Linked DNA regions of Homo sapiens: all the other regions are linked to region 4. Evidence: promoter capture Hi-C in 16 types of primary human blood cells and fetal thymus (Javierre and others, 2016). All regions are on one chromosome and are shown on one strand. The core of a region is centred on a gene start or on the middle of the fragment in contact, and the rest is flanking DNA. Distances in the headings are between cores, read along the strand shown. Region 1 has its middle 2.5 kb from the start of HPX. Region 2 holds the start of DNHD1 (dynein heavy chain domain 1). Region 3 overlaps DNHD1 (dynein heavy chain domain 1). Region 4 holds the start of MRPL17 (mitochondrial ribosomal protein L17). Region 5 overlaps DNHD1 (dynein heavy chain domain 1). Region 6 overlaps ARFIP2 (ARF interacting protein 2).

Region 1 (3,618 bases), core at 321-2,820, 240 kb before region 4:
GCACCACCACTACTAGTAATTAGTCTTTCTTGGTAGTTTCCACCTTGGGGGAAAAAGCTTTATTTAACCAACCCAGAACAAATAGAACTGTAACTGGAATTTCACAATATTTCTAGCTGACTCCTGCTTAAATGCTACCTTCTCAATGAAGCCTTTCTTGACCACCTTATCTAGCCATTTCAGACCCTTGCTTGTTTTATTTTACTTACTAAAACTTGAAATTCTTTCATCTGTCTACTTATCTGGTGATGGTTGTTGTTGCTTTGCTTTGTTTTGCCTGTCTTGTTTACCATTATATATCCCTGACTCCTAAAATAGTGCCTGGCATATAAGAGTTGTTCCAGAAATATTTGTTGAATGAAAAAAATGCAAAAATGCATTTCAAGTACTGAGTAGTGTTGCTAGTGTTGCAGCCAAATTTCTGACAATTTCCCCCCCTCTAGGGTAGGAGAATATTAGGAATTGGGGGTAGGTTATGGTAGTAGGCATAATGAGATCTAGGAGTCACAGACGCCCTTTATCTGACAGTCCTGTTTCTCTCTCCAGTGTCTCGGCCCCACATCCATCTCTTCCTGGGATCTCACCTGCTATCCTCAGTACTTCCTGGGCCCACTCCCAAAGCTGCCCCATTTCTGTGTGAGATTTGCCTAGTGAGTCAGAAAAGAATTATGGGCAGACTCAGCTATGGGCCAGGATGAAGTTCCAGGACCCCTGCTCCCTAGCCAAGGCTGAAAGGGCCCTGATCCCTCACAGATGGCTCCAGACCCCTGACAGTCCCATATATAATCTTACCAAAAGTCTCAGATCCCTTTTCTACTCTGCGAAGTTTCCTTCCAACAGGAAAACACACATTCCGGAACCTCTGGAACAACATGTCACCAGGCCTCTGCCATCAGGCTCAATGTCCTCTCCTGACTTACGAATGAAAATGTGCTGTGAACATCATTCCCTCCTCATAGGTCAGTGGGCAAGGCTGGACTCTCTGAGTCCTTGGCAGCCTGGGCAATGCCATCGCTGCTACAGCCAATGTCTCATACTCACCTTCTCCCCATTGCAGGGCATGTCTTCTTTCTGGGTGTTGGGCAATGGGAGCCACTATTCTAAGACTCCCCCTCACCTTTTCTTTCCCTCTCAGCCTCTGAAACCTTATATTCTCCCTCCTGAGCACCCCATGATCCTCCATCAGGAATTTCCTCAACAACTTGTCTTCAGCTGTCAGAACCCTGTCTGAATCCTACAGATTTTGCTGGGCCTGCCTGGGGAGAGGGAAGCTTTCACCCCAAGAAACAAACACCCCACAGAAAACCCATAGTGAGAGTCTTCAATAGTCCTATTAGCAGGGCCTTGCACTGACTTGCCAGTCCAAGGGTGCAGTCTCCTTCTGGCCTAACAGGGCTGTCTGAGGGCATACAGCACATATACTGGATGATCATTTTTCAGCTTGACCCCTTCCCCACACACCTGGTGTGGTCCCCCTCACAGCACCCCGGATCCATCTATCCCAGAATACTACTTTATGGTCCCTTTTCCCTGTTGCTTCCTAATTCACCTGTGTACCCGAGAATGGCTTAGAAACCATTACTGGATCCTCCTGCTCCACCCAGGGACTAGGCCAGCAGAGTCATCTGCACTGCAGGCAGTCCAGGTTGAAGTTCAAGTTTTGGGCAGGAGTTGAAAGTAGAACATTGTACACATTTGGGAACCCAGGGCTGTGGATATGTTGGCCACCCTGGTGTTGGTCACAGGGTACAAGCCAAGACTTCTCAGGGTAGTCAAGACTCAGCAGCCTTGCTTCTCTTCCCCTCACTACAGGAGGCCCCTTCTGTGGGTCCTGGGTCCTTCCCAGGCTTCCTACTGGGGCTGAGGAAAGAAGCTTGTCGGTACTTGGGCCTGAGCACCCCCTGCAGGCCGCAGGAATCAGTGCACTCCCGCCCTTCAACTAGAGGCCAGAGCCCAGGAGTTTTTCCTCTCTGAAACTAGCTCTCCACAGCCTTTGTCCCACACTCCTCTCAGCCCTGGCTGTGCATCCTTAGTGGTACACACCCTTCTATGCTTCTTTCCCTTCTTCTGCAAACCTTGCTGCCCAGAGTGGATTTGGGGACCTCAATCTCTTGCTTCTCTGGGAACTCGAGCCCAGAGAAATTCAACCATCTCTTTTCCTGGGTAGTCTTCTCTATCCTCCTAACCAGCAGCTTTTTTACTTCTCCCAGAAGGGGTCTGAACACGAACCTGCAAATGTCTGCAAATGACAGAGCTTCCTCCTGCATTGCCAAGAGCCAGATGTAAGCTGGACACTGACCCACTGTCCCTTGGAATGGCTATGTCTATGTCCAGCCTGCTCTGCTGTTGATATGAGTTCTCTGACCTTAGCCATTTCTCCTGGGCCCACTGAGTGCTAGGTGTGCTGGGCCTGAAGTCTGTGGCTGTATACTCCAGGGAGCAGGAACTGAATGTCTCCTTTCCTCAGGGGTAGGAGGCTTAGGGATAAAGCTCCAGGCAGCCAAAGAGCTTGCTGATCCCAGCTGACCCCTCCTCTTGCTCAGTCTATAATGGGCCTTAGTGCTATATATATATATATATAGCATGTATATAGCACTTGCTATGGTTTGAATGTTTCTGTCCCCTCCGAATTGATGTGTTGGAAGCTTAATTCCCAATGTGCCAGTGTTTGGAGGTGCGGCCTCATGAGAGGTGTTTAGGTCATGAGAGCTCTGCCCGATGAATGGATTAATGCTGCTATAAAAAGGGCTTTCAGAAGTGGATTCTCTCTCCTCTGCTTTTCTGCCACGTGATGAACAGCATTTGTCTCCTCTAGAGGATGCAGCGTTCAAAATGCCATCATAGAAGCAGAGACCAGGACCTCACCACACACCAAACCTGCTGGGCACCTTAATCTTGGACTTCCCAGCCTCCAGAACTGTGAGAAATACATTTTTGTTCATTATAAATCATCAGTCATGGGCATTTTGTTATAGCAGCACAAACAGACAAAGGTAGCACTATGAGTCCCGTTTTATGAATGAGGAAGCCAATATTAGGTATCTTAGCCAAATCACATTGCTAGCAAGTGGCAGAGCCATGATTTAAACCCTGGGTGCCTGACTCCTAGGGGTGTGTTCCTACAAGGATAGTGTGTTCTTATCAAGGGGTTCGCTGGCAAATATTTAACAACTGCTCTCTAGGGGGAAAAAGCACTGATTTGTAACATTTGCAGATTTTTGTGATATAAATACTCCTACCATGGCCAACTTTAAGCTACCGACAAGACATCACCAAATGTAGAGTTGGGAAGGGATGTACAGTAACACACTGCATACAATATTCCTACCATACAGATATGATAGATATAAATAATCACAAGAGCACAGGGGATAGTAAAATGTAGTAAAATAATTAGGAAGTGATTACTTTTAAGTACTGATTATCTTTGGTTTTAATAGAATGTATTTAAGTTTATATAGTTTGATTTTTAATAATAGCTGTGTTTTAACAACCAGCTCTCAAAATTCTAAATTTGACAATCAGCTCTCATGAGCCAGCTCCAGCACCCCACAGTCTACCATGCTGCCTTTGTGTACAGGACAAGGATCCTACCTGCTTTAGTCACTGCTATATCTT
Region 2 (3,303 bases), core at 43-2,542, 190 kb before region 4:
GTAGGGGCAATGGTGAGAAGCATGAGAAGGATCTGAGGCAAGGAGAACAGTTCAAAGGCTGTGGAAAAACCCAGGTGAGAAATGATAGCAGCTTAGACCAAGGTTGTAGTACTTAAGATGGTGGGAAATAGTTGGATTCTGGATATATTCTGAAGGCACAACCAGCAGAATTTCCTGAAGGATTACTTATGGAGGGAGGGGGAGAGAGAGAAAGAGAAAGGGAAAAAGAAGAGGGAAAGAGAAAGAAGGGGTTTGGAAGAGGTCTCAAAGCTGACTCCAAGGTTTTGGTGTGAGAAACCAGAAAGAATGGATTTGCCATTGACTGAGGTGGGAAAGACAGTGAAAGGAGCAGCATTTCTTTGGTGGGGAAAGGGTGGTTAGGAGCCTGCTTTTGGACATTTTAAGTTTGAGATACCTATAAGCTCTCCAGGTGGAGACATTAAGTAGGCAGTTGGATATACTAATCTGATTTCAGAGGAGAGGTGGGCTGAATTTCTTTTTTTATTTTAATCATCAACTTTTTTTTTTTTTTTTTTTTTTTTGAGATAGAGTCTCCCTCTGTCGCCCAGGCTGGAGTGCAGTGGCGCGATCTCTGCTCACTGCAAGCTCCGCCTCCTGGGTTCACGCCATTCTCCTGCCTCAGCCTCCCCAGTAGCTGGGACTACAGGCGCCCACCGCCACGCTCGGCTAATTTTTTTGTATTTTTAGTAGAGACAGGGTTTCACCGTGTTAGCCAGGATGGTCTCGATCTCCTGACCTCGTGATCCACCCGCCTCGGCCTCTCAAAATGCTGGGATTACAGGCATGAGCCACCGCGCCCGGCCTCATTCAACTTAATTTTTAAAAATTAGCCCCTCCATAAGCCCTTCCCCAAAAAATCCCCCTCCCCCCGTGCCAAATAGATGTTGAGCTCCTTGAGATCAAGGATTTTGTTTTATTCGGGCTTCTTTTGGGGAGGTGGGATAGGGTAGATGGATACGTTGGGGGTGGGGATGGGGGAGTACCAAAGACATACCAAAGACCTGGCACTAGTTTAGATACTCAGCGAATGGATATAAACACCTGCTTACGACACCCTCTGGATTGCTAGTCTCCCGAGTCAACCGTACTGCACGTGCAGTTCAGACCCCGCCTGGTCCTCTACAGGTCCCTGTCCCAGGCAAGCCTTAGCCCACAGGTTGAACCTAGTTCTGCCCCTCCAGGCTTGGGCTCTGCCCTCTCGGCCCCGCCCATATCGGACCCTGGCCCCTCCTCTTTCTGGCTCCCCCGGATGCTCCTGGCAAAGACTCGGTCCTTCTGGAATCTTGTAACGGTTCTAACAGCTGGGTGCGGGTGGAGCTGCGGGTGAGTCCTCGGCTCCGGATCCATTTCTCTTTGTTCCCTAGGACCCCCTCCCACAGAGTCCGCCTCCTCTTCCCCGCTCTCCCAGCCCCCTCCTTTGCCTGTTAACGTCTTCCCCTACCTGCATCCTGACCATCATTTGCTGTGCCTGCTCCTCGGCTTTCTGTCTTCACGACCTCCTTAGGCTGTGGGCGAAGACGTCATGGGACTGGGGCTCTGCTGCCTTCGAGTGACGACCTGTTAACCCGTTTTTCAGGCGATCGCCAGCTCGAGTGCAGATTCCTTGCTGTGACCGAGGTTCAGAGTGAGCTCTGTCGGTGTGTCAGTTTGCCTCTTCAGGTGATTGCACGTCTGTGTGCGAGTCTCTCCGTGTATGGGTGGCTATGATTAGGGTGAGCCTCAGACTGGAACTCAAGTCTAAGTTCATTCACTGCTCCAGCAGGCACTCTTCAATGAAACCTCATCAGCAGATCGGGCTCTCTTCCCTTGCCTTGCCTCCTAACCCCCCTAGGCCAGGTGAGGGGGACAGGGTACTGGGAGGTAAGAAGGAACTCTTCTGCAAGGAGGGCTCTCACGTCTGTCTTAGGCCTGCTCCTTACCAGAGTCTTTGGGGAAGCAGTAGGGAGGGCCTGAGGGTCTCAGGAAAGGCTCTCTGCTGGTCTGGCTCTGCTCTGTAGCTCCATCTATTTCCCTGTCCCAGGTCCTTTCTTCCTCCTAACCCCATTGACTCTGACCATCCCCTGCCCAGAGCCTGAGGTCCCTTCTCTGGCCCCTCTGCTGGGCTGGCCCATGCAGGTGAGGCCCCGCATCTGGCATCCTGGAACTGGCAGTTGGAGCCTGAGCTATGGGCAAGGTCACTTCGACAGCAGTTGAATGCCCAGCTCCTCATGGTCCCGGAGGAGAGGAGGGTAGGTTTGTCTTCTGATGAGACATCATCTGATTCCCTTAAGTCTTGGCACTCCATATGTGTCTTGGACAGCAAAGAACAGCCCTTGGCCTGCCAGCAGAAACAGAGGCAGTTCGTGAAGCCAGTGACTGAGTCAGAGCAGCCCACAGTGCTGGAACTCCTGCTAGCTGAGCTCCGAACTCTGTTCTCAGCTGTGTTGCAGGACAGTAGCCCTGCAGCTTGGCGCTATCTTCATGCAGTACTGGGTCTACTGCCTCCATATCGTGAGTTGCTAGTTGGCCACCTTGATTTGCTGCCCTTCCTGGAGCAGCTGTACTGCTGGGCACCCTGGGTCCAAACCCACCTCCATCTGGACCTGCTAGGTGCCATTGTCCAGGCCTTTCCTCCAGACAGCTCTTTGTTAGACAGTGCTTCCCATGCTGACTGCTGTCCCCAGAAGCGGAGGCTCCATCACAGGCCCCCATGCCCAGCTTGCCCTTTTGTGCAGGCCCAGTGGAGCAGGCAGCAAGTAAAGGAGGAGCTGGCCACCTGGCTGCGACCATTGACACTGCCTGAGCTACAGCGCTGCCTGGGCATTGTTGGTGCTCAGGTGGCCCTAGAAGAGGCTGTGTGGCTGGATGGACTTAGTCTCCTTCCCTTGGCACTGGCAGCGGACATCCCTGTACGGTATGAAAGCAGTGACACTGACAATGCAGAGGTGGAGCCTGTTGGAAGAAAAGAGACCAGGTAAGTGAGGGACTCAGTCTAGGGCTTGAGCAGAGGAGAAAAAGTTGCTGTTTTATGGGTGCCTCTGGGGTCACTTGGAAGTTTAGATCCAGCTCTCTGTTTATCACAGGGATTAGCCCAACTCCACACAAAGCTAGTGTGAGGCTACTTTCCTCTTCCTTTTTCTCTGCAAAATAAACCCAGTGGTGTTAGTCTTAATCCCCATAGAGAAATACAGAAATTAATGAAAATCAGAAGTCAGCTATGAGGCAGCCAAAGCTTTAGAATAACAGCTTGACTTTTCAGTTTCCAGGTTTTTTTCTTAGATGATGTCAGAAGTCTCCTTAATT
Region 3 (3,438 bases), core at 373-2,872, 130 kb before region 4:
GAACATCCAGTATAAAATAAAAAATAAATAGACATGCCAACAAAAACCCCCAGAAAATAATGTGACCTGCTGTCAAGAAGAAGCAAGCAATAGAATAGAAACTGACCCTGAGATCTATATAGCTGTACGCTGTCCAAAAGATGCACTTTAAATATAAAAACACAGATAGATTAAAAGAAGTTTTTAATGCAAAATATTTACTACAGAAATAGTTTGCATAAGGAAGTTGATGTGGCAATATTAATACCAAAGCACTTTAAGACAAAGGATATTACCAGAGATAGAAAAGGACATCTCATAATTGAAAGATTCAACTCATCAGAAAGACAAAAGTCTTAAATGTGTCCACACCTAAAATAGACATTTAAGTATAGGGAAAAAAAGCCAATAGAAACAAAAGAGACATAGTAAATCTGAAATCATATTAAGAAATTAATATGCCTCTCACAATAACTGATAAGACAAGGAGCAAGAAAGTAGGGACATTAAAGATCTGAATAACACTAGCAACACACTGACATTTACAAAACATTATACTCACCAACTGCAAAATGCACCTTCTTTTCAAATGCACATGAAACATTCACCAAGATAGACCATATGCTGGGTTACAAAATAAGTCTCAACAAATTTCAAAGGATTAACATTTTAAATAATATTTTATCTGACCATAACAATACAAATATTGATAAGATGCCTAGAGAATTTCCAAATTCTTTAAAATTAACACACTTCTAAATAATGTACCAAAAAAGAAATTACAAGAGAAATTAGAGAATGTTTTGAACTAAATAATAATGAAAACAAAACATATCAAAATTTGTGAGATGCAACTAAAGGTTATAGCTTTAAATATCTATCTTAGAGAGAAAAGCTTGGAATCAATGACCTAAATTTTCAGCTTAAGACTCTAGAAAAAGAAGAGCAAGTTATACCCAAAGCAATTAAAAGGAAATCAATAATAAAGAACAGAGCAGAAATCAGTGAAATAGAAAAACATACAAACAATGGAGAATATCAACAAAGCCATATTTTGTTTCTTTGAAAAAGATAAAATTGACAATCGCCTATTAACACAAATCAAGAAATGAAAAGGAAAACATAAATTTTGAATATCAGGAATGAAAGAGGTTTTATTAAAGATATTTAAAAGGATAAAAAGGGAGCCAGGGCCGGGCACTGTGGCTCACGCCTGTAATCCCGGCACTTTGGGAGGCCAAGGAGGGCAGATCACGAGGTCAGGAGATGGAGACCATCCTGGCCAACATGGTGAAACCCCGTCTCTACTAAAAATGCAAAAATTAGCTGGGCATGGTGGCATGTACCTGTAATCACAGCTACTCGGGAGGCTGAGGCAGGAGAATTGCTTGAACCAGGGAGGTGGAAGTTGCGGTGAGCTGAGATTTGCACCACTGCACTCCAGCCTGGTGACAGAGCGAGACTCCGTCTCCAAAAAAAAAAAGGGGAGCCAGGCATGGTGGCATGCACCTGTAATCCCAGCTACTAGGGAGGGAGGCTTAGGCAGGAGGATTTCTTAAGGCCAGGAGTTCAAGACCAGCCTGGGCAGCATAGTGGGACCCTCATTTAAAAAAAAAAGTTTTAAAAAATGGATAATAAGGGAAAATTATGAAAAACTTTATGCTAATAAATTTAGCAACTTAGGTGAAATGGATACATGCTGTATTAGTCTGTTTTCACACTGCAATAAAGAACTACTTGAGACTGGGTAATTCATAAAGAAAAGAGGGTTAGGCCAGGCATGGTGGCTCACGCCTGTAATCCCAGCACTTTGGGAGGCTGAGGCAGGTTGATCCCTTGAGGTCAGGAGTTTGAGACCAGCCTGGCCAACATGGTGAAACCCCATCTCTACTAAAAATACAAAAATTAGCTGGGTGTGGTGGGGGTCACCTGTAATCCCAACTACTTGGGAGGCTGAGGCAGGAGAATCGCTTGAACCTGGGAGGCAGAGGTTGCAACGAGCCAGGATCACGCCATTGCACTCCAGCCTGGGTGACAAGAGCAAAACTTCGTCCCAAAAAATATATATATATAAGTAGGTTTAATTGACTCACAGTTCCGCATGGATGGGGAGCCCTCAGGAAACTTAAAGTCGTGGCAAAAGGCGAAGGGGAGGCAAGGCACATCTTACATAGCAGTTGGCGGGGGCGGGGTGGGGTGAAGAGATGTACCATCAGAACTTATGAGAAATTGCTCACTATCATGAGAACAGCATGGGGGAAGCCGGCCCCGTGATCCACTCACCTCCCACCAGGTCCCTCCCTCAACATATGGGGATTACAATTCAAGACAAAATTTGGTTGGGGACACAGAGCCAAACCATATCACATGCCTTACAAAAACATAACTTGTCAAAGCTTGAACAAAAGAAGAAAAATAATAGAAAATGAACAGCCTCATACCTAAGAAAAGTTTGAATGCATAATAAATGTTTCCAGTCCCAGATGGTTATACAGTTGAATTATATCAAATATTTAGAAAAAAAGTACAACTTATATATACTTTTTCAGAAAATGGAGAATACTAAGCCATGATGAAGACATTTCAAGCAAAGAAATAAACTGTTATCTTTCATAAACCTAAATGCAAAAATAAATCCTCACTGAAATATTATTAAATAAAATTCAGCAACATACAAAAAGAATAATATCTTAAGACCAAACGGAGTCTATCCTGGGAAGGCAAAGCTGACTAAACATTGAAAAATCAATCAGTGTAGCTCACATTAACAGAATAAAGGAGCAAATGAGTAAGTAATATTAGTAGATAAAAATCACTTGACAAAATTCCAACACTATTCCATAACTCCCAGGAAACTAGGAATAGAAGATAACTTTCTCAATTTGATGAAAAGCATCTATTATACTTACAGCTAAATACATACTTAATGGTTAAATATTGAATACTGTCCCCCTAAAATCAGTTAAAAGGCAAGAACATACTCACTGCTTCTATTCAACACTGTACTGGAGACCACATCGACGCAATTAAGAAAAAGAAATAAAAGCTTTTAAAATTAGAAAAGACAAGTTAAAACTGTCTGTATTGGCATGTAATATGATTGTCTACATAGAGACCCCAAAGGAATATTTTTTTAAACCCCATAAAAAACTACTACAATAAATAAGTTAATTCATCAGGGTCACAGGATACAGAATCAATCCATTGAAATCATTTGTACTTCTATATCCTAGTAACAAAACATTGGAAATTGAAATTTTAAAATATCACTTAAAAGTCATTTAAAAGCATAAAATACTTAGGAATAAATTTAATTAAAAGCATTCAAGATCTGTACACTGAAAATGACTAAATATTGCTGAGATAGAGGAAATGTAAATAAATGGAGAAATATATGATGTTCATGGATCAGAAGAGTCAGTATCATTAAGGTCTTCATTCTCCCCCAAATGATCTATA
Region 4 (3,491 bases), core at 1-2,500:
TTAAGGGCTGCAGACTCTTCAGATCCAGTTAAATCCCTGGTGTTTGAGCTGTGTGGGAGCTGTGGTTGCTTGCTTCCTGGCTTTGCCTGAGGTCCTGCCGCAAACCCTGCAGCAGCTGGTTTAGGAGTGTAAGGTGGCTGTCTCTGCGAGGCAGAGGCAGGGGTGGGAGGCAATTCCCTTTATACTCGATCACTGCCATCTTGGCCCGATCCAAACTCCGATTTGGGATCTGCAGCATTCTTGTGTAGCCCCCAGTTTGATCTTTGTACCGAGGGGCCAGTACTTGAAACAGCTTTGGGATCAAATCCTTCTCCTAGAGGGAGAATTATCCAAGAGACAGCAGAGTCAGGCAAAACTGCAGAGGCATTTAACTTTACACCATTCCCAAAGGTAAGGTCCATCCACACATAGAAAGACCTCCCCCTCCCCTCGCCAATCTGGCATAGTCAGTGTTACACAAAGGGGTCGTTTATAGGCAGTTGTGCAGAGGTATATTCACATCGACTTCAACTAACTTAAGACACAGTTTCTAATTTAGTTAGCAGCACTGGCCCATAAGTGAGTACCCAAGTTTAATTCTGCATAGTTCTCCTTTTTCCAACCCCCACCCCCAGGGAGCAAAGGGTGGGATTTTGAAGGCAGATAGGTCGCACTCACTGTGAGCCAGAAGTCAGCCATGCGCATGGCTCGTTCGTTAGTGTCTCCCAGCTTCCCATAGTCGATGAGCTGTGAGGACATAACATCACGGATCCAACCGAGCAAGAAAACAAGGTGCCAATCTAATTTCTCTAATGCCGGAAGGCAATCCATTCTTTCCACTAGCCAAGCATCTCCAATCTACGCCACCCCTAACTCCGCAGCCCTAACCAGTCTTCCATTAGAGGCGATGGAGGGGCGGGTTCAGCCCAAGGTTCTGGGGGACTCAGACTTGGGGAATGGTTTACCAGGTTGGTCCCGGTCCCTTTCCACTTGCAGCCGGCTCCGCCCCCTCAGACCAGACCCGCAGAGTGGACAAGAGGGCCGCGCTCCTCACCTTCTCCGCGTAGCCCCTCATTTCGTCCACACGCGCCCATGGTGCCTCGATGCGTTCGTGCCGCACCAGCCCTGTGAGCAAGTTCCGCAACAGATGGATGCGGGACTCGGGACCGAGGCCCATACGGCGAAATACGCGGCCATGGGAGATCGCTGCAGCGACCGACAGCCGCATGTTTCCAACTTCTGCCCGCCCCTTGGAGGCCGGAACTGGAAACTGGAAGGTAGAGCCGGTGGCGGCAATTTCAGGGAACGCATGCGCCTTAGCTCGGAGCGTGGTGAACGTGTTTGCGCATGCGCATCAGAGCCTGCCTCGTTGGCAATCTCGGGAAGGGCGGAGAAACGGTGTTGAGCTTTTCCAGAGGCGGCGAGCTGGGCGGGCTTCAGGCATCCAGAGCGCTCTGTGGCGGCCGAAGAACCAGGCGCCCCCTAGTGTGGGATAAGCGGGCCATCGGGTTTTTTTTGGGGCTGCGTCAGCCAGTGGCATTTAGGGCGATGGGGCGCTCCGCCGCGGAGACTCCTGGGAAAGAGAGCGTCTGAAGAGAAAGGCACCCGGAGGGTTCGGGGTCCTGCGGGCTGACGGCCCTACCGGGTCCAGCAGTGGCCAGCTGGCCTGGTTGACACCTGTACGCATTGTTTTTAACACAGTGATTTTCAGTAGTAATGGTGAGATGGATAATAACGATGCCCGGAAAAGAAACGCAGATAGTGAAATTTTTCTTTTATTGAAGTAATCACTCCAGTTAAAAAAATTACAGCACTAAAGGGAAAAGTAGTAGATTGTTTTTAATTACACCAGTGTGTCTTTTTAAGGGGAAAAAACATACCTACACATTTATGTGTTAATGAACAATAATATTATAGTTTGTTTTTGAGCCTTAACATCTGCAAATTGGCAATGACTGTCAAAATTATTCCTTGTTATGGGTTGAATTGTGTCTTCCCCATGATTCTTCCCGTCCCCAAAAAGCTATGTTAAGTCCTAACCTGCAGTAACTCAGAATGTGACCTTATGTGGAAATAGGGTCATTGCAGATGTCATTTGTTAAGATGAAGTCATGCAGGCATAGGTGGGCGCCTAATCCAAAATGCCTAGTGTCTAGCTAGCTAGATAGATAGACACATATATACGTACATACATATATGCAGGCCGGGCACGGTGGCTCACTCCTGTAATTCCAGCACTTTGGGAGGCCGAGGCGGGCGGATCACCTGAGGTCAGGAATTCGAGACCAGCCTGGCCAACATGGCGAAACCCCGTCTCTACTAAAAACACAAAAATTAGCCGGGCGTGGTGGCTCATGCCTGTAATTCTAGCTACTCGGGAGGCTGAGGCAGGAGAATAGCTTGAACCCGGGAGGTGGAGGTTGCAGTGAGCTGAGATCGGGCACTGCACTCTAGACTGGGCGACAGAGTGAGGCTCTATCTCAAAAAAAAAAAAAAAAAAAATGCGCATGAAGAGAGAGAGATGGACACAGGGTGATGCTGACCAGGTAAAGACAGAGACATACAGGCAGAAAGCCATGTGACCTTGAAAGCAGAGATTATGGAGTCAAGCAGTTGCAAATCAATGAATGAACACCAAGGATTGCTGGAGCACACCTGAAGCCAAGGGAAAGGTATAAAACGCATTCTTTTTCAGATCTGTCAGAGAGCATGACCCTGCTGCTAACACATCGCTTTCTTACTTCTAGCCTCCAGAGCCACAAAACAATAAATTTCTGTTGTTTTAAGTTCCACAGTTTGTGATAGTTTGTTACAGCAGTCTTAGGAAATGAATTCACTCCTCTTTACATGTACATATTCAGTAGACGTATAGATTTGTCACTTTGTCAGCTTATAGGTGACCAAAGAACACTTCTTTGCTAATTTTAATTTTGAAAAGTTTCTTTAATATGAAGGAACAAATATGCAAATAGGAAAAGTCATGAACATATAAATACATTGACAGATTTATACAAATCACACTTCACAATTAAAGAAATTTACAATAAATTACAGAAATTACAATTACCATTCATGTTTTGTTTCTTTGGGAGCAATTCTTGTAGTTTTCAATTGTCTTTGCAGTTGAAAAATTTCACTAAGATGTTTTCACCAGGATATATATATATTTTTTTGAGACGGAGTTTCTTTCTTGTTGCCCAGGCTGGAGTGCAATGGTGCGGTCTCGGCTCACTGCAACCTCCACCTCCTGGGTTCAAGCGATTCTCATGCCTCAGCCTCACAAGTAACTGGGATTACAGGCGCCCACCACCATGCCTGGCTAATTTTTTTTGTATTTTTAGTAGAGACGGGGTTTCACCATGTTGGCCGGGCTGGTCTCGAACTCCTGACCTCAGGTGATCTGCCCGCCTCAGCCTCCCAAAGTGCTGGGATTACAGGTGTGAGCCACTGTGCCCGGCCCACCAGAAAATTTATCATAAATTTCTATTGGTAAAAACTTGTGAAGAGGTTCT
Region 5 (3,434 bases), core at 917-3,416, 150 kb before region 4:
GCTTATTGTTGTTCTAGTTTGTTAGCTTCCTGATCCTCAATCCAGGACCAACTAGTCTCTTTAAGAGGAGCAGGTGGAGAGAAATGAGCACTGGATTTAGAACCCTGTCTGTTTTTCACTTGCTTTGTAACTTCAGATTACTGTGTTTTAGTTTCTTTATTTGTAAGCTGGGCATGATAACACAGTCACTCACAGGGTTATAGTAAGGATGACTAAGATATTATTTGCAATACTCTTAGCATTGAGTGTGGCATGCAGTAGGTGCTTAATATTTTTTTCATTTCACCTTATCCCCTTGTATCTACTCTCATCCTTCTTGCTGATCTAATTTTATCTAACCCTCTGACTTAACTCTGTCGTTTCTCTTCTTCCTGAACTCCCTTGAACAACAAATGGCGTAATTATACACTCTGACGAATTAGCTTCACCAGAAACTTGGGGTCACCCTTTACTCCTCCCTCTCCTTGACCTTACTACATCCAACCTGTCTCCAAATCCTTGTCATTCTTCTGCCCCCTAAGTATCTCTTAAATCTGTTTTTATCCATCTCCAGCTTCTAATCCCAAGGAGTCCTGGTATTTTATCAATGCATTGCTCCTTTATACCATACGGTGTCACTGTTGAGCTCCCATCTGCCTTCATCTGCCTGTTGCTACTGGTCCAAAAGCAGCACCATAAACAAACAAACAAACAAACAAGCAAACAAATGTGGCAGCATTGCAATGGCCTAGTTACTGTTATGTTCCAAAGGGACAGTGTGAAAAAGGATGAGTTTAGATCTTCATGTTCTGTTTGATATAGGTTGTCCCTCAATAGGCTTCCTCTCAGCAGGTTTTCTTATTATCAGGTCTTAGTACCCAGTCATCTTGGTTACTTCCTCCAAGTCTCTGAAAGTGACATACCCAGTATGTCTCAATTATCTGTCCCCCAAACTCACTATTTTACTTACTAGTTGCAGAGATGCTAATAGAGGATCGGTCAGTTTACTTTGCACATAACATAAAAAATATTTTTAAATACTTTTTATAAACATATATTTTTATGTTTACATTTATATTTATAACATAAACATGTTTATATTTAAAATATAATGAAGTGGAGCCATGCTGCCTGAGTCTGAATCCTTGCTCTGCCACTGTGTGATGTTGATCAAGTGACATAACCTCTCTGAGCTTCAGTTTGCTTATCTGTAAAATAATAGTATTTACTTCAAAGGGAATTTGTGAGGATAAAATATAATTAAAGTACTTGAAATAGTGTCTGGTATGTAGAAAGCACTCTATACTCTATTTGGTGTACCATATTTCTATATTGTATTTTTCCTATTCTGTGCATATTTTAACATCTCTGAACTTTAAAGGTGTCTCATGATTGAAGATGTGTTAGAGTTTAGATGGCATCAGTTTTTTTTCTTTGTTAGTGGTATATAAAATAATGGTGCTTCTTACAACGGGATCTTAGATTTTATGAGGTATCATATGGGTGTTATCCCTGCCCTCTGAGATAATAAAGTTGTTCATACTGCCAAGGGCAGCTTCCAGGATTACTTTCTAGCCCCTTATCCACCTGAGACTTTCTTTACTTTAATCCTTAAAAACAAAAGGCAGATCATACTACCTTCTTGGTCCCCTTCTTCTAGAGCAAGGGCAGTAAGACTCCAAAACCAGAATACTTTTATGTCTGCTAGGATACTCTGCTATTCACAAACATGTCATTTCCATACTGTTGCACACACTGTTTCATCTTTTTGGAGAATTAATACTCAACACATCCAACTCCAGTGTTCCCTTCTCTGAAGGGGCCTTGCCCAGCCTTCTCAGGATACCCCCCGGCACCCCCACCTCTTAGCTATACTGGCTGAAGGCTCCAGGCACTCACAGTGGATTTATCACACTGATTTGTGATTGCTCATTTGTATGTCTGTCTCTGCCTCATATTGTGAGCTTTTCAGGGTGGGGAAACTTTCTGTCTCATTCATTTGCTCTCGTCTACCAGTATAGAGCACAGTCCCCAGTGCATAGCAGCTGACTGGACATTGAGCAGGGATTCAACAAGCATTAAATGAGATAATTCATGGTCTGACCTGCCATTCAGCCTACTCCCACTCTGGACCACAGCACTGTCCCCAGCACCCCTTCTTTTTTATGCGTCCCCTCACACCTTACTCTCCTGTCTCCAGAATCCAAGCTGAACAGCATAAGGAAGGACATTCTTGCACACGTGCAAAATGAGTGCTGGAACCTCAGTCAACAACTCATGACAGAGCTCACAGATTTCATGCATATCTTCCGAACCATCAACTCAGATATTCATGCCATTGCACAGTGCACCCAGAAGGTGGGCTCTCCCCATCCATCCTTCCCAGTTTATTCAGGGCCCATCCTGCTCAAAAGCTCAGCACACTCTCTTCAGGTCTCTGCTGAGCCCCCAGCAGAGCTTGATGCTCTTAAACTGTGCTCGCCTAAGAGATCTACCCTTGCTAATTCTTACCCTGTCCATGTGGCCCTCAGGTTCCTCATGTCACAGGGAGGCCCTGGTGTGATGAGAGAGTTGTGCTCTCTGTGACAGTCAGATAGAAAATTGTTGCCTTGTCATCAAGGTAATGGGGTGGTGGGTGAGAAGTGGACCCTTCACCAGAGAGATCTGGGTCAGAGAGAGATTTGATCCCTCTGGAGAGATCCCTCAGGAGAGATTGCCCCTGATTCCAGTTGATTACAAGGCTGCAACTGGGTCTGGAGACTTCACTCCAAAAGGTGGGAGTTCCCCTTGGGGATGGGACCAAAGAGGTACATGGGGTTGTGGGGCTGCCGGTCTCATGCTGTAATTCCTGCAGTTGAATGAAGCCAATGAACAGTACGTCGAGCTGGAGGAGCGAATGGAATACGTACGGGCACTCCACGAACTCATCCGCAACCACTTTAGCCTCTTTAGTGCTGAGAATGAAGCACTGGACATCTCGGTGAGAAGGCAATTCGGGGAGTCACCCATCCCTCCCTGCCCTCCTCCCCCACAACCACATCTACTCCACTGCCCTCTGCTTGCCCCACAGCTTCTGGATATGTGGGAGGCATTTCAGTTTGAGAAAAGCCAGGCTTCAGAGTTCCTGCTCAGCAAGCGACATGCCATTATGCCCAAGCTGCAGCAGCTGATGGCAGCAGCATTGGCAGAGCTGGAAGGCCTGCTTGCGAAGGCCCTCTCCGGTCCCTTTATGGACCCCACACAAGATCAGAGGAGTACTGAGCACCAGCTCGTCTCCCTAGAGCGTCAGTTCCAGAACACAGTCAGCGACCTCAGTGAACTGCACCACGCCTATGCCATCTTCACTGGTACTGAGGATCCCTGCACCCTCCATTATCACTCTGTGATAGACCCTTCAACTGAAGTAAGAGTTGGAACTCAGGGTTCTGTGTCCTGTATGACCCCAAGCAAGCCTT
Region 6 (3,228 bases), core at 263-2,762, 210 kb before region 4:
CTAGAGTCCCCGACAAATTGACCTCGCTGGGCCTGCTTTTATGAAAGGTTTATTCCTAGTGCTAGATCCCAATCTTCTTGGGCTCTAAGCACAATTAAACTGGGTGGGTGGGTGAGGGTAGGCCTATTCAGATGCAAGGCCAGCAATGGGGCTCCCCATTATCCCCACCCCTTTGGTCCCAGTCCCCTTCTCTGCAATGGGCACGCATAGAGGAGAGACAAAGGGTATTAGACGCAACATCATTGGCCCAGGGGAGTCCGAGAAGAGCTGCCATTGGCTGACAGGGCATTTTCAGGCTCTGTCATTGGTCAGGGAGCACACCCCAGCCTGAAGAGTGATGCCATTGGCCAGGGAGTGGTTTTGTCATAGCCGTTGGCTGTGAAGTGGAAGGAAAAGATCTGGGAATGAAGCCCTGTGGCCAGGAAGATAGACAGGGCAGCAACTTCTGGGCCTCCAGGCCCTCTTCCCACCATAGCAATGTGGGCAAAACTGGTGTCAGGCCCCAGCCAGAAAAAGGAGCCCAAGCCAGAGGGCAAGTGACAAAGGATGTACCATGTCCAATCTCCCACACCCTGGGGCTGCCCTTCCCAATGTCTTTCTTGATAGCCAAGTTGGGCTGGGAGCAGCTCACTGCTCCTCTAGCCAGGAGGGTTTCTCAGCTCCTGGAGGCCGCAGCTTGATGTTGAACTGCTGCAGGGTCTGCTCCAGCTGTTTCTGGTTCCCAGCAAAGTAGGCGGACACAGCATTGTGGAAGAGCAGCAGCTGCTTGTGCATCACCTTGATCTGGGGGTCCAGCAGGGTCAGCTAAGGCTGGACTCAGGCGCCCTTCTTGAGGGTCTATGAGCCTGAGCCCAGGCACAGACCAGGGGCACAAGGACTCTGCTCTGATGGTGCTTTTGGGGTAGGGGCTGAACTCTACCCAGGGAGTCAAAGGAGAAGGGTCAGTATGATGGAAGAAACCTCACTGGATTTGTGGGCCTAGGGTTTTTGTACCCCAGCTCAGGGGGTGATTTTTCCCAGTTATGTTCCTGGGACCAGCAGCCAAATCCTCCAACAGGAAAGGGCCAGGAATTGGAGGGAGGGTGATCTGGAAAGGCCCAGGGGTTGAGGGGGTGAACACTCTACTCCCCAGCTAGGCTGCATTTCCTCATTCAATAATGGGGAGGGTCTGAGGGGAAGGTTAGTGTTACAGATGGAAAGGTGGGCTAGGGTCAAGGGGGTGGGGTTGGCACCTTGTTTTCTTCCAGGAACTTGAGCTTGATGGCCACATCTCCCCGCAGCTTCTCATACTTGTCCCGATGGGCCTGGAAAGTGGCCTGGGCACTCTCAAGTCGACCACGTGTCCCTGCATCCCGGGGGCCTAGACTCAGCTCCTCTAAGTCTGTTCGGTAGGCATCATATTCCAGCCTGGGGAGGGGGTGATAAAGGCTGGTCTCCACTCCTTTATCCTCAACACATACTCTCCTTTCCTTCCTGAATTCTTATGCCCCTAATGCCCAAATTTCCACCCATACCAGCCAACTCCCCAAACCCTAAGCCCTGCCAGTGCCCACACCTGGCAGCCTCATACTGTTTCACAGTCATGAGCGTGTCTTCCATGGTCTTGGTGACCAATGTGTTGATGCTAGAGACAAAGAAGTTCACGGCTCCTAGCAGCGTTTCCCCATTCTTGCATAGTAGTTTCTGTGTCTCTGCATTGTAGCCAAATTCCTCCTGAGGGCAGAAGGGAGGAACAGACCTTGAATAACACTCCCTACCTGACTGAAGCTGTAGAGCCCTTCATTCCCCTCCTCCCCGGGGAGGACACAGCCAGCAAAACTGGAACAACCAAGGACTGCCTCCAGCAAGGCTCTCTTAGCCGGAAAGTTAGTGGGATCACCCTGGGGATACCTGGGGTAGGAATGTGGGTGGTGGGCATTCTTGGGTAAGTTCACAAGACTGGAACAGTCTGAGAGCTAGTGTGGCAAGCAGGGGAGGGGCTCTGATTAGGCTGAGCACGAAGGCATTCTCCCCAGTGCAGAGAGGGGTTATTTGTGAGGCACCTAGTGTGCCCCCTCCCCCACCCCCTCCAACTTCTGGACCTCTGTACAAACCCTTAGGCTGCCTCCACAGGTGAGTGCTGCTGGGGGTAGGGCTGGGCCCACCCTGAAGGGGTTCTCCCTGTGGGCTGCAGGAGGGAGGGAGGATGAGGAATGACTGCCTGGGAGGGCCCATGCCCAGTTCCCCCACCCTCTTTGGTCTGGGTGAGGCACCTGAAGCTCTGGGGACTTCTGGCTGAGGTCAGCAAAGGCATCACCCAGTGCATGCTGGGTCTGCAGCAGGCTGTAGAGGTGGGCTGTCAGTGCCCGGCCCAGCTGCAGGACACTCTCATACTTGCGCTTCGTCTCACGCAGCAACTCAATCTGCAGCTCTAGCTCCAGGTCCACAGTCCGTGAGCCTCGACCAAATCGTTCTGATAACAGTTGCTTTGTGCACTGATTGGGAAATGGGGGAATAAATCAGAGACCCTAACAGCCTCCCCACACAACAGGTATCTACCCCAGCACCCCCCAGGCTCCTACTCTCAGCCACAGATGGGATATTACGATCACGAAGAAAAGGGAAAAAGGTACCCATAAGGAGTTTTGGGGAAGGGAGAGGTGCTTAAATCCTACCTTATAGGTGTTGATGCCCCATTTCTTGACGATGTCAAACTTTTCTCCAGCAATGCCCCGAGCCACCTCATCTCCAGGGCCAGAAGGAGTGGTGCTGTGAGATGGATGGCGGCCAGACCCTAAAGGATCAAGTTCTCTGACACCAGCCTCTCTCAGATACACCAGACACCTCTGTGGCCCCACCCATACTTCTCTTCGAGCACATGAAATTGACTTCCCTGAAGGAGATGCTAGAGACAACTGGATGCTCCTGCTTACTAGGAGGAACTCGGACTTTGCGCGGTGAGAACCAAATCCTGATATACATATGGCCTCCTTGGGGGTTAGAGGAGGGGTTTGCAGGGAGTTGTTGGTGTACAGGGGCAGAGGAAACAGAAGAAAATACACTGAGTTTGGGGGCAGCAGGAGTCAAGGATGGTGGGTCATGATAACAAGAAACCTGGTTGCATTCCCATGTGGAATCTTAGTGTGAGATTCAGGGCTGTTTGTTCCTCTAAACTTTAGAATCTAAAAATTCTGAGAAGCTTCACAAAGTTCCAACTCAGCCTCAAGCTGTAGAGGGGGGGCATTCCTG

What was found. Contacts are between HindIII fragments. The CHiCAGO score rates a contact against its expected background, and 5 or more counts as called.
Region 1: a contact is called between a fragment that was not itself captured here and the fragment with the promoter of MRPL17 in region 4, in 4 of 17 cell types (activated CD4 T cells, naive CD8 T cells, total CD4 T cells and 1 more). The highest score is 6.5, in activated CD4 T cells.
Region 2: a contact is called between the fragment with the promoter of DNHD1 here and the fragment with the promoter of MRPL17 in region 4, in 2 of 17 cell types (neutrophils and total CD4 T cells). The highest score is 5.9, in neutrophils.
Region 3: a fragment that was not itself captured here is called in contact with the fragment with the promoter of MRPL17 in region 4 in 5 of 17 cell types (activated CD4 T cells, M0 macrophages, non-activated CD4 T cells and 2 more); the score reaches 6.9 in activated CD4 T cells.
Region 5: a fragment that was not itself captured here is called in contact with the fragment with the promoter of MRPL17 in region 4 in 15 of 17 cell types (activated CD4 T cells, total CD8 T cells, monocytes and 12 more); the score reaches 11.7 in activated CD4 T cells.
Region 6: a fragment that was not itself captured here is called in contact with the fragment with the promoter of MRPL17 in region 4 in 2 of 17 cell types (naive CD8 T cells and non-activated CD4 T cells); the score reaches 6.5 in naive CD8 T cells.

What each region holds. Positions count from the first base shown.
Region 1 is chr11:6,441,695-6,445,312 of GRCh38, forward strand. No RefSeq gene overlaps it. Among named protein-coding and RNA genes, the nearest start is that of HPX, 2.5 kb to the left of the region's middle. RefSeq lists an enhancer at 1,661-1,730. The HindIII fragment of the contact is 602 bases long and covers 1,270-1,871 here.
Region 2 is chr11:6,495,988-6,499,290 of GRCh38, forward strand. It overlaps DNHD1 (dynein heavy chain domain 1), which reads left to right and starts at 1,293. Exons shown (of 43, transcript NM_144666.3): 1 at 1,293-1,344; 2 at 1,598-1,680; 3 at 1,784-2,974. The coding sequence starts at 2,229. The HindIII fragment of the contact is 5,087 bases long and covers 1-3,230 here.
Region 3 is chr11:6,550,491-6,553,928 of GRCh38, forward strand. The region is part of intron 24 of DNHD1 (dynein heavy chain domain 1); the gene reads left to right. Among named protein-coding and RNA genes, the nearest start is that of RRP8, 51 kb to the right of the region's middle. The HindIII fragment of the contact is 1,501 bases long and covers 873-2,373 here.
Region 4 is chr11:6,682,090-6,685,580 of GRCh38, forward strand. MRPL17 (mitochondrial ribosomal protein L17) reads right to left here and starts at 1,251. Exons shown (of 3, transcript NM_022061.4): 1 at 1,034-1,251; 2 at 658-726; 3 at 1-313. The coding sequence starts at 1,207. The coding sequence ends at 29. RefSeq lists enhancers at 793-1,555, 972-1,411. The HindIII fragment of the contact is 17,410 bases long and covers 1-3,491 here.
Region 5 is chr11:6,530,848-6,534,281 of GRCh38, forward strand. It overlaps DNHD1 (dynein heavy chain domain 1), which reads left to right. Exons shown (of 43, transcript NM_144666.3): 13 at 2,180-2,337; 14 at 2,834-3,326. Among named protein-coding and RNA genes, the nearest start is that of DNHD1, 35 kb to the left of the region's middle. The HindIII fragment of the contact is 4,335 bases long and covers 1-3,434 here.
Region 6 is chr11:6,476,486-6,479,713 of GRCh38, forward strand. It overlaps ARFIP2 (ARF interacting protein 2), which reads right to left. Exons shown (of 8, transcript NM_001376558.2): 4 at 2,655-2,773; 5 at 2,253-2,474; 6 at 1,556-1,713; 7 at 1,233-1,407; 8 at 34-783. The coding sequence ends at 628. Among named protein-coding and RNA genes, the nearest start is that of ARFIP2, 3.2 kb to the right of the region's middle. The HindIII fragment of the contact is 3,327 bases long and covers 1-3,176 here.